Regions from separate parts of the Homo sapiens genome. Here region 1 is linked to region 2. The links are contacts of gene promoters, found by promoter capture Hi-C in blood cells and fetal thymus (Javierre and others, 2016). All regions are on one chromosome and are shown on one strand. Each heading gives the region's core, a stretch centred on a gene start or on the middle of the fragment in contact. The rest is flanking DNA. Distances are from core to core; before and after follow the strand shown.

Region 1 (4,548 bases), core at 772-3,271, 2.4 Mb after region 2:
CGCTAGTTTATATTGGCTGCTTGCCAAACGAAAGCAATTATGTGTAATAATAGAAAAATTAAGAGGTGAGTGTTGCTGTTTTACAGCAGGACATGGCAAAAACCATTTCCTTCTGTCAGCAGTATCTTGATTACACTCTCACACACAGTCTCACTCCTTTGTACCACATGCGCACGCGCACGAATGCACAACACACATTATTTCCTGTGGGTTTTAACTTGAGGTCACTGAAACCAGAAAGAGGAAGAATGCAAACCACAGCTTTTAAAAGCAAATGAGAATAGAACTTGCTGGCAAAAAAAAGAGAAAAAAATAATAAGTGAACTGGAAATAACAGTAATCAGTGGTAACTATGATCCTTTTTCATCCCCTGCCTCCTGCAGGTGTCCTAGTGGTCAATGTCACGTGGAGGAACAAAACGTACGTGGGAACCCTACTGGACTGCACCAAGCACGACTGGGCCCCTCCCAGGTATGAACAGGGCCTTTTATTTCTCTCCTTCCCCATCCTCTCTTTGCAGGGAAACTGTAGAGAGAGATTCATAATACATAAAAGTGTGCCTGTAATTGAAACCAGGCAAAGGAGAAATGAGCAATTTAGGATTGAACGCAGTAAAATGCAGATGCTAAATTTCTTTTCTATCAGAAGATCTCTGCTCCCCACCCCTTCTCTCCTGTCTTTGTTTTCATTTTTTCTCAAAGTGGGAATTTGAACTGGTTTGGAAGCTAGCTACTTGAGCTGTTTTTCTTTGGTTTTTCTGAGGAAGAATATAAGCCCTTGGTCGCCTGTTCTTTTGCAGGTGTTGGAAATTGTCAGTCTTTTCCTTGACTGGGCCCAGCCCTGAAGCTACTGGAGTGTTGACTCCTCTTTACTGCATTGTGTACTTTGTGATTTCACCTGGCTCTTTTGGGGATGCTCATTTTCACATCTGTTACTTGCTTCCATAGGTTTTGTGAGTCACCGACAAGTGACCTGGAGATGAGAGGGGGCCGGGGCAGAGGGAAGAGAGCGAGGTCTGCTGCTGCTGCCCCGGGCTCCGAGGCCAGCTTCACAGAGTCCAGAGGGCTGCAGAATAAGAACAGAGGGGGGGCCAATGGGAAAGGGAGGCGGGGCAGCCTCAATGCCAGCGGACGAAGGACACCCCCAAATTGTGCTGCTGAGGATATCAAAGCCAGCCCTTCCTCCACCAACAAAAGGAAAAACAAGCCTCCAATGGAGCTGGACCTGAACTCCAGCTCTGAGGACAATAAGCCTGGAAAGCGTGTCCGCACAAATTCCAGAAGCACTCCCACTACCCCTCAAGGGAAACCAGAGACTACTTTTTTGGACCAAGGCTGCTCTTCTCCAGTGTTAATCGACTGTCCCCACCCAAACTGCAACAAAAAGTACAAGCACATTAACGGCCTGAGGTACCACCAGGCTCATGCACACTTAGACCCAGAAAACAAGCTGGAGTTCGAGCCTGACAGTGAGGACAAGATCTCGGACTGTGAGGAAGGATTGAGTAATGTGGCACTTGAATGCAGTGAGCCAAGCACAAGTGTATCTGCTTATGACCAGTTGAAGGCACCGGCATCCCCTGGTGCTGGAAACCCACCTGGGACCCCAAAGGGAAAGAGAGAGCTGATGAGCAATGGCCCAGGTTCCATTATTGGTGCTAAAGCTGGGAAGAATTCTGGCAAAAAGAAGGGCCTTAACAATGAACTGAACAACCTTCCAGTAATCTCCAACATGACGGCTGCGTTAGACAGTTGCTCGGCAGCAGACGGCAGTTTGGCTGCTGAGATGCCTAAACTGGAAGCAGAAGGATTAATTGACAAGAAAAATTTAGGAGATAAAGAAAAGGGCAAAAAAGCTACCAACTGCAAAACGGACAAAAACCTCTCTAAACTGAAAAGTGCCCGGCCCATTGCCCCTGCCCCAGCCCCCACTCCCCCGCAGCTAATCGCTATACCCACTGCAACCTTTACAACGACCACCACTGGGACAATACCCGGACTGCCCTCCCTCACAACAACTGTTGTTCAGGCTACACCAAAGAGTCCTCCGTTAAAACCCATTCAACCAAAGCCCACAATTATGGGAGAGCCCATCACCGTGAACCCAGCTCTGGTGTCACTCAAAGACAAAAAGAAAAAGGAGAAGCGAAAGCTAAAGGACAAAGAAGGGAAAGAGACGGGAAGCCCAAAAATGGATGCCAAGCTGGGGAAACTAGAGGACTCCAAGGGGGCCAGCAAAGATTTACCTGGGCATTTTTTAAAGGATCATCTCAACAAGAATGAAGGGCTGGCAAATGGACTGTCGGAGTCTCAGGAGAGCCGCATGGCCAGTATCAAAGCTGAGGCCGATAAGGTTTACACTTTCACAGACAACGCTCCCAGCCCTTCCATAGGGAGCGCCTCGAGGCTGGAATGCAGCACTTTGGTGAACGGGCAGGCACCAATGGCACCTCTGCATGTGTTGACCCAGAATGGGGCAGAGAGTTCAGCTGCAAAGACAAGCAGCCCGGCCTATTCAGACATATCTGATGCTGCTGACGATGGTGGTTCTGACAGCAGGTCGGAGGGTATGAGATCAAAGGCCAGTTCCCCATCAGATATTATTTCTAGTAAGGACAGTGTTGTAAAAGGGCATTCTTCAACTACAGCACAATCATCTCAACTGAAAGAGTCCCATTCTCCCTATTACCACAGCTATGATCCTTATTATTCTCCAAGTTACATGCACCCTGGGCAGGTCGGTGCCCCTGCAGCTGGAAATAGTGGGAGCACGCAGGGAATGAAGATCAAGAAGGAGTCTGAGGAAGATGCTGAAAAGAAAGACAAGGCAGAGCAGTTAGATTCTAAGAAAGTGGACCACAATTCTGCATCCTTACAGCCTCAGCACCAGTCGGTGATCACACAAAGACATCCTGCCCTGGCTCAGTCACTTTATTATGGCCAGTATGCATATGGGCTCTATATGGACCAGAAGTCTCTGATGGCCACCAGCCCTGCCTATAGACAGCAGTATGAGAAGTACTATGAGGACCAGAGGCTGGCAGAGCAGAAAATGGCCCAGACTGGGAGAGGAGACTGTGAAAGGAAAAGTGAGCTCCCCTTGAAAGAGCTGGGCAAGGAGGAAACTAAACAGAAAAATATGCCATCGGCCACAATCTCAAAAGCTCCCTCTACTCCGGAGCCTAACAAAAACCATTCTAAACTAGGGCCATCAGTGCCTAATAAAACTGAGGAGACAGGTAAATCGCAGCTTCTCTCCAATCACCAGCAGCAGCTTCAGGCCGACAGCTTCAAAGCTAAGCAGATGGAAAACCACCAGCTTATTAAGGAGGCTGTAGAAATGAAGTCTGTCATGGACTCTATGAAGCAGACAGGTGTAGACCCAACCTCGAGATTTAAACAAGTAAGATTGTGGAGCGTGGCCCCAACAGGGAGAGAGCAGTCTGAGACTTGTATTATACATGTCTGGGCTTGATCTGGTTAGACTTCTGACACAGGAAAGAAACCCATATTAGTTTTTTCCTCTGCTCTTGAAAAATATCTTAAGATTCTCAGGAGTTACTATGTAGCTCTAAAATGTACATTATCAGTATTTTCTTGTCATGGTGTATAGTAAAAGGAACTGTGGATGGGTGCTTTGCAGATTTGTGTTTCATGCCACTAACTTGCTCTGTGACTCTGATGAGGTCCATTAATTTCTTTTTTTAAATTTTTTAAATTTTTTGAGACGGAATCTCTCTCTGTCACCCAGGCTGGAGTGCAGTGGTGCAATCTTGGCTCTCTGCAACCTCCGCCTCCGTTCAAGCGATTCTCCTGCGTCAGCCTCCTGAGTAGCTGGGACTACAGGCACGTGCCACCATGCCCGGCTAATTTTTTGTATTTTTAGTAGAGATGGGGTTTCACCGTGTTAGCGAGATGGTCTCGATCTCCTGACCTCATGATCCGCCCACCCTGGCCTCCCAAAGTGCTGGGATTACAGGCGTGAGCCACCGCGCCTGGCCAGGATCCCTTAATTTCTTAGTCCAAGGCGAGGGCTTTCCACAATGGGGCTGCTGAATTCTCTTCTAACTCTGAGATTCTGAGTCTTATCTCTGAAATATTTATTTTCCATTTTCAAATTTCTACTAGCATCTTCTTTGAAGATAATAAAAACTGGGTCCCTGAATTCACATTTCCCATTAATCTTTTTAATAGAATTTGGGGCCCAAATTTCTTTCACATGGGGTCAGAGATGCCTAGATTTCAGTCTTACTCCCTATATTAAGTACCCCAAAACTCAGAGCTCAGTGCTGAATGTTTGTGAGGAGGGTGAGGAGGTTTGGGTGGCAGGCCTCAACAGCTGTCCCAGAGCCCCATGGGTCAGTCAGCTTGAGAACACCTGAAAATTGGTCACCACGAAACCACAAATGTACTAGCACCTTCTGTCATGGTTCAGACATCCTGACCCACTGCAACCCCGTGAGCATTAATCCTGGTTATTTCCCAGCACTGCACATCCCCACTCCCACCCTCACCCCCATGCTTAGATAATCCCTGGTGCATTAGAGCA
Region 2 (4,788 bases), core at 1,134-3,633:
AAGAGCACAATTTTAAAAACACATCAAAGTGGAGTTCTGCTGGAATCAGGTTGGGAGTCAAGTCTTCTCTCTCTTTGGCCTTCTCTCCTGTAAGGCACCTCCAGCCATGTCCTTGCCCAATCCAGACCTGGGCAGAAACCTGGTGAATATTCCATTCATGTGGTCTACATCTAATACTTTATGGGCAAAGGCCATTCTCCTAGGCCAGTCAGCAGCATGCTAAGGAACCTCTGGAATTGAGTCAGATGGTCTTCCTTGCCTGTAGCAGTCCTTTGGTCCACAAGATAGAAAATAAAGAACTTAAGGCTGGGCGCAGTGGCTCACGCCTCTAATCCCAGCACTTTGGGAGGCCGAGGCGGGCGGATCACAAGGTCAGGAGATCGAGACCATCCTGATTAACACGGTGAAACCCCGTCTCTACTGAAAATACGAAAAATTAGCCGGGCGTAGTGGCGGGCGCCTGTAGTCCCAGCTACTTGGGAGGCTGAGGCAGGAGAATGGCGTGAACCCAGGAGGCGGAGCTTGCAGTGAGCCAAGCCATAGCACTCCAGCCTGGGCGACAGAGTGAGACTCTGCCTCAAAAAAAAAAGAAAAGAAAAGAAAGAACTTAAATATGGACAATGTTTGCATTACTGAGCAATTTTTCAGGGTCTGCAAAGGGCTATCCCTGCCCTAGTCTCCTGCCCTTCTGACAACCTTCCTATGGACCTTTTCCCATTGAGAAATGGAGCTGAGGAGACAGAATTGAAACTCAAACCAGGCCAGAGCTCACCTAAGAGGGGCCATTTCACTCCTTTTCAGCCACCAGCCCTTTACATTCCTTCTCCCTGGTGACCTCATCAGAACCTTCTCATGAGAGGTCAGCTATGATGCAAGACCTTATAGAGGCCAGATGGCATTGAAATAACACCTTGCAGCTCCCTTACATGTGAATAATTGCCCATACTGAGAGACTAAAACCCTTAGGACTTCTGGGACCTGAATGAGGCAATGGTCTGAAGTGGGCTTGCGCTGGAAGCAAGACGTAAGTGGTGAAGGTGAGTATCAGGGCAGCAGGTTGACCCCTTTCTTGTTATGAGCATGCATTCCTTCATTCTTACTAATACGGGTTAGGTGCCTACCCATGGCAAGAGCAGTTCTAGGCAGGGAGAGGCCCCTACCCACCCACAGCTGACGGTCTAGGGCTTGTTTACATTCTAGGTTTCAGCGGGAAAGCAAGAACACCCAACTCCCTGCTTTTGATTCTATGTTAGTAGCTCAGCGCGCCTGTGCGAGCACGTGCTGCAGCCAGGGTAGGGGCTCAGAAACTGGTTGACAAGATGAGCAGTGGGGTCCTAGGGGGTTGGGCGGGAAGGGCCCACAAGGCCATATTCCAGGCTGTTCGGCTGCGAGTGACCCCTGAGAGGTCGGGATCTCCGAGCTCGTCCGATGTCTCCATCCCAGCCAGGAGCTTGCGAAGGGGAAGGAGGGCGGAAGCAGAGTGGGACAGATGTGGTTCGTTCTGGGGCTTCCTGTCCACGAAGATGGATAATTCTAGCGACCCGCCTGGGATTTTGGAATCCTGGCGGACCCAAAAGACAGCAGAAGTCACCGCAGAGGATGCCACCCCGCACGGCAGCCCGCCCAGAGCGACGGTCTCACAGGTTCCGGCGCCGTCGAGCGCCCAAGCCTCCTGTTGGCCGCCAGCTGTGTCCGCGACGCGCTGGGTCGGGAGGAGGAGACCCGAGGCGCCGGTAAGTCCCCCGCTGCAGGTGGCCCGGAGGGCAGGGGTGAGGACGGGGACGTGTACTGAACTTTGGGAGGTTTGCGGGGCTGGAGTTTTGTTTCAGAGATAGCCAGATCGAGATCAGAACGTTTTCCAGAGAGCCCAGGTTTCCACTTGTGGCTGGGCGACCCGGTCCGGAATTCATCCTTTCTCGGCCCTCAGCTTCCTCCGGGCGGGGTTCCGATGGGGCAGCTAAGTTCCGCGCCTCCTGCCGGTGCCAGATACTGGCGTGTCGACCCGCGCTGCGGTTGGCTTCTTGCTCCACAGCGCTATGCGCGCGGCGGCTCCGAGGGCTCCTGGTCTCTCTCAGCCAACGGCCTTCTGGGGCCGCCGCCTCCCTCTAGAGCTGCTCGGGTCCCATTGCAGAGAGTCCCGCAGCGCCCGCCGGCAGCCACGGCACTTCGCAATAACCAACTTCCCCGCCGCCGGCGCGTCCCGCCAGCCTGCCCTCGGCCGCAGGCGACTGGACGGCGGTTACGGGGCGGTCCCAGCGCCACCACGACTGGCTGTCGGCTCCGCCAGTCATGGGCTGATGACGCCCCGGGGCTGGCTCCGCCCCTAGCGGCAGCCCCGCCTCCCCTCCAGAGCCTGGTCGGCTTAGCCCTGCTTTCCGCCTCACTCGTTGAGCAGGTCCGTGAATTGTCAGCGCGCTGTGGGCGACTGTGTGGCCGCGGCGGCCGCCAGGCTTGCCGCACTCCCCCTGAGGTGCCCGCCGGAACCAATGTGCCCTGGTCCACTGGGCCGTGAGCAGCCACCGACTGGGGGCAACTTGGCACTTAGAACCGCAGCAGGGACGTCGGTTTGCTATCGGGACTCGGCGAGGACGGTGAGTGGCCGCGCGCCGGGCTAGCGGCTCCTCTCGGCGCGGTTCGGCGGCGGCGAGAGGGGACGGGACGCGTCCTGGCGCTCGGCGGTCCGTTCGTCCGAGCGTGACCGCTGTGGGGAGGTCAGGGCTGGGCGGGATTTACTCCGTGCCAATATCCCCACTCCCGAACTTCTTCTTGTCAAAGCATCCCAACTCCGCCCGGGACGCGGTTCCAGTCCGCACCAACTTGGCGTAATTGACATGGGTAGGTGGGGCCGGGACGCGTCCCCTGCCCCTCTGCGGCAACGACATGGAGCGCTGGGGCGGCCTCCGCGCCCGCGGCGTGCGGACCGCGGTTCCTGAAAAATTACCCGCGCTGTGCGGTACGGTAAGACCCGGCGTCCGCGTCTGGATCTCAAGGCTGAGCGAGCGCTCATCGGGCTCAAGGTGGGTCTCAGCGCCAGAGAACTGGAGTACCAGCCGGGTTCTGTAGCGGGGGCTTCAGTGCTCTGCAGCTACTGAGAGGAATTGAGAGCACTGCTGGGCTTTGAACTTTCTAAAGTAATTGCTTTCTATTAGCACTTGAATCCATGACCCTCCTGAGGTGCTCGGACCTCCACATCCACCCGCAAGGGGTGTCCGAAGGACTTCGTTAGGACCAGGCGGGAGCTGCTGTCGGTTCTGGTGCCCAGTGCCTTGGAGAATCCTAGAGGCTGCGAAAGGGATTGCCAGCCTGGTCGGTTGGTGTTTGTTTGAGCACCTGCGTGTTTAAGTGATGAAGTTGAGTCAGGAATTGACAGCAGAGAACTCAAGGTTAAACCTGACACTCCGTTTGTGACTCGGTCTGGGTTAGATTGTTTTCCCCCCTTAATGGTAAGGGGGTAAAAGCAGCTTGTTTTTCTGAGACCAACTACATGCATGTAGTTTATATTATGTGCGGAATAAACAGAATTCAATACGATATTTTCTTACAATTCTTATTTGACATGAATAAGAGCTTTTGAAAATACTAGACAGAAACAGGTCCAGAATTTGGGGATGTTTAGACCTTTGAAAATACATGAAAATGTTGAGATATATAGTTCTGTATGTGTATATGAAGATGTAGATGCGCATATACACACATACATACGTGTATATGTGTGAGTGTGTGTATATATAAAATTAAAAGGTGAATGAGGTAAATATATGAAGGGGAAATTCAGCCTTGAACTTCCCTTGGGTCACAGAGATGGATCCTCTGAGCTGTGGGGTGTTAGTGAGTGTGTATGCGTAAGCATGTCTGCATCTGCCTGGTCTGTCTGGGTCAGAGTATGTCCATGAACTTTACGAGCGTTCAGTTCAATACCACTCAGTGCAGAATCCGCGTTCCTGTTTTACAGCCCAGCAGCCGCCAGCCGGCCCATCTGTTAAAACATAACATGTACACTTCAGTCCGACCACTGGGGTGGAGCCTGGGTAGGGGGCAACTCTTAGCAGAAACAACATGCTACAAACAAAGCCTGCCTCTCAAGTTCTATTTTCATTCAATATTTGGCCTGAACTTGAAGTTTTGGTGAGGGAGAAGGAAGTGTTTGTCTCTAGAAATGGCAAACTGCATTTTGTGAAATAATTATAGCCACGGCTTGGGGAGGGGGAGCTTGTAGGAGAGAAAAAAAAATCCCTCCAGAAATGTGGTGCTTGTCACATCACCATGCAACACGGGTTTACAGCTTTGCAGTATGGCATGTATATCAGAAACTGTTTGCTTTTGCTTGTTAAAATAATGCATTAAAACTGAATCATTTTGCACCAAAAAAAAAAAAAAACCTACCTTAATAGAAGTAAACAGAGCTTTATTGCAGAGGCTATAATTAAGACTGCCTTGGTATTTCTAATGAAACATACTTTTAGGAATTTATAACCTGGACATATATTCATAGTCAGTCTAATCACTAGTTGCAATGATTCACAATTTATAGTTTTAAAATAATAAAAAGGCTTTATCACAAAAATTCTGATGACTAAAAGGGTATGGGAGGAGTATAATAGCTTAATAAGTTCTTGCAGCCAAGTGACTGATACTTTAAAAAACAATAAATTCCTTTAATAGCACAATTACTTTAGTGACAAAATAAAGGCAGTATTTTTGAGAAGCATAGTTCATATTTTTCCCAATAATTTTATGCTCATAATTACATTTCAATAATGGTGTTCATTATATATGGGCGGAATAAAC

What was found. The method cuts DNA at HindIII sites, captures the fragments that hold promoters and counts their contacts. A CHiCAGO score of 5 or more calls a contact.
Region 1: a fragment that was not itself captured here is called in contact with the fragment with the promoter of MARCHF3 in region 2 in 1 of 17 cell types (neutrophils); the score reaches 5.1 in neutrophils.

Annotation. Positions count from the first base shown.
Region 1 is chr5:124,645,533-124,650,080 of GRCh38, reverse strand. It overlaps ZNF608 (zinc finger protein 608), which reads left to right. Exons shown (of 10, transcript NM_020747.3): 4 at 384-471; 5 at 948-3,402. Among named protein-coding and RNA genes, the nearest start is that of ZNF608, 99 kb to the left of the region's middle. RefSeq lists an enhancer at 1,060-1,568. The HindIII fragment of the contact is 7,804 bases long and covers 1-4,548 here.
Region 2 is chr5:127,028,153-127,032,940 of GRCh38, reverse strand. MARCHF3 (membrane associated ring-CH-type finger 3) reads left to right here and starts at 2,383. Exons shown (of 5, transcript NM_178450.5): 1 at 2,383-2,591. LOC105379163 (a long non-coding RNA gene) reads right to left here and starts at 1,598. Exons shown (of 2, transcript XR_007058920.1): 1 at 1-1,598. RefSeq lists an enhancer at 1,501-2,045 and a silencer at 2,042-2,421. The HindIII fragment of the contact is 7,560 bases long and covers 1-4,788 here.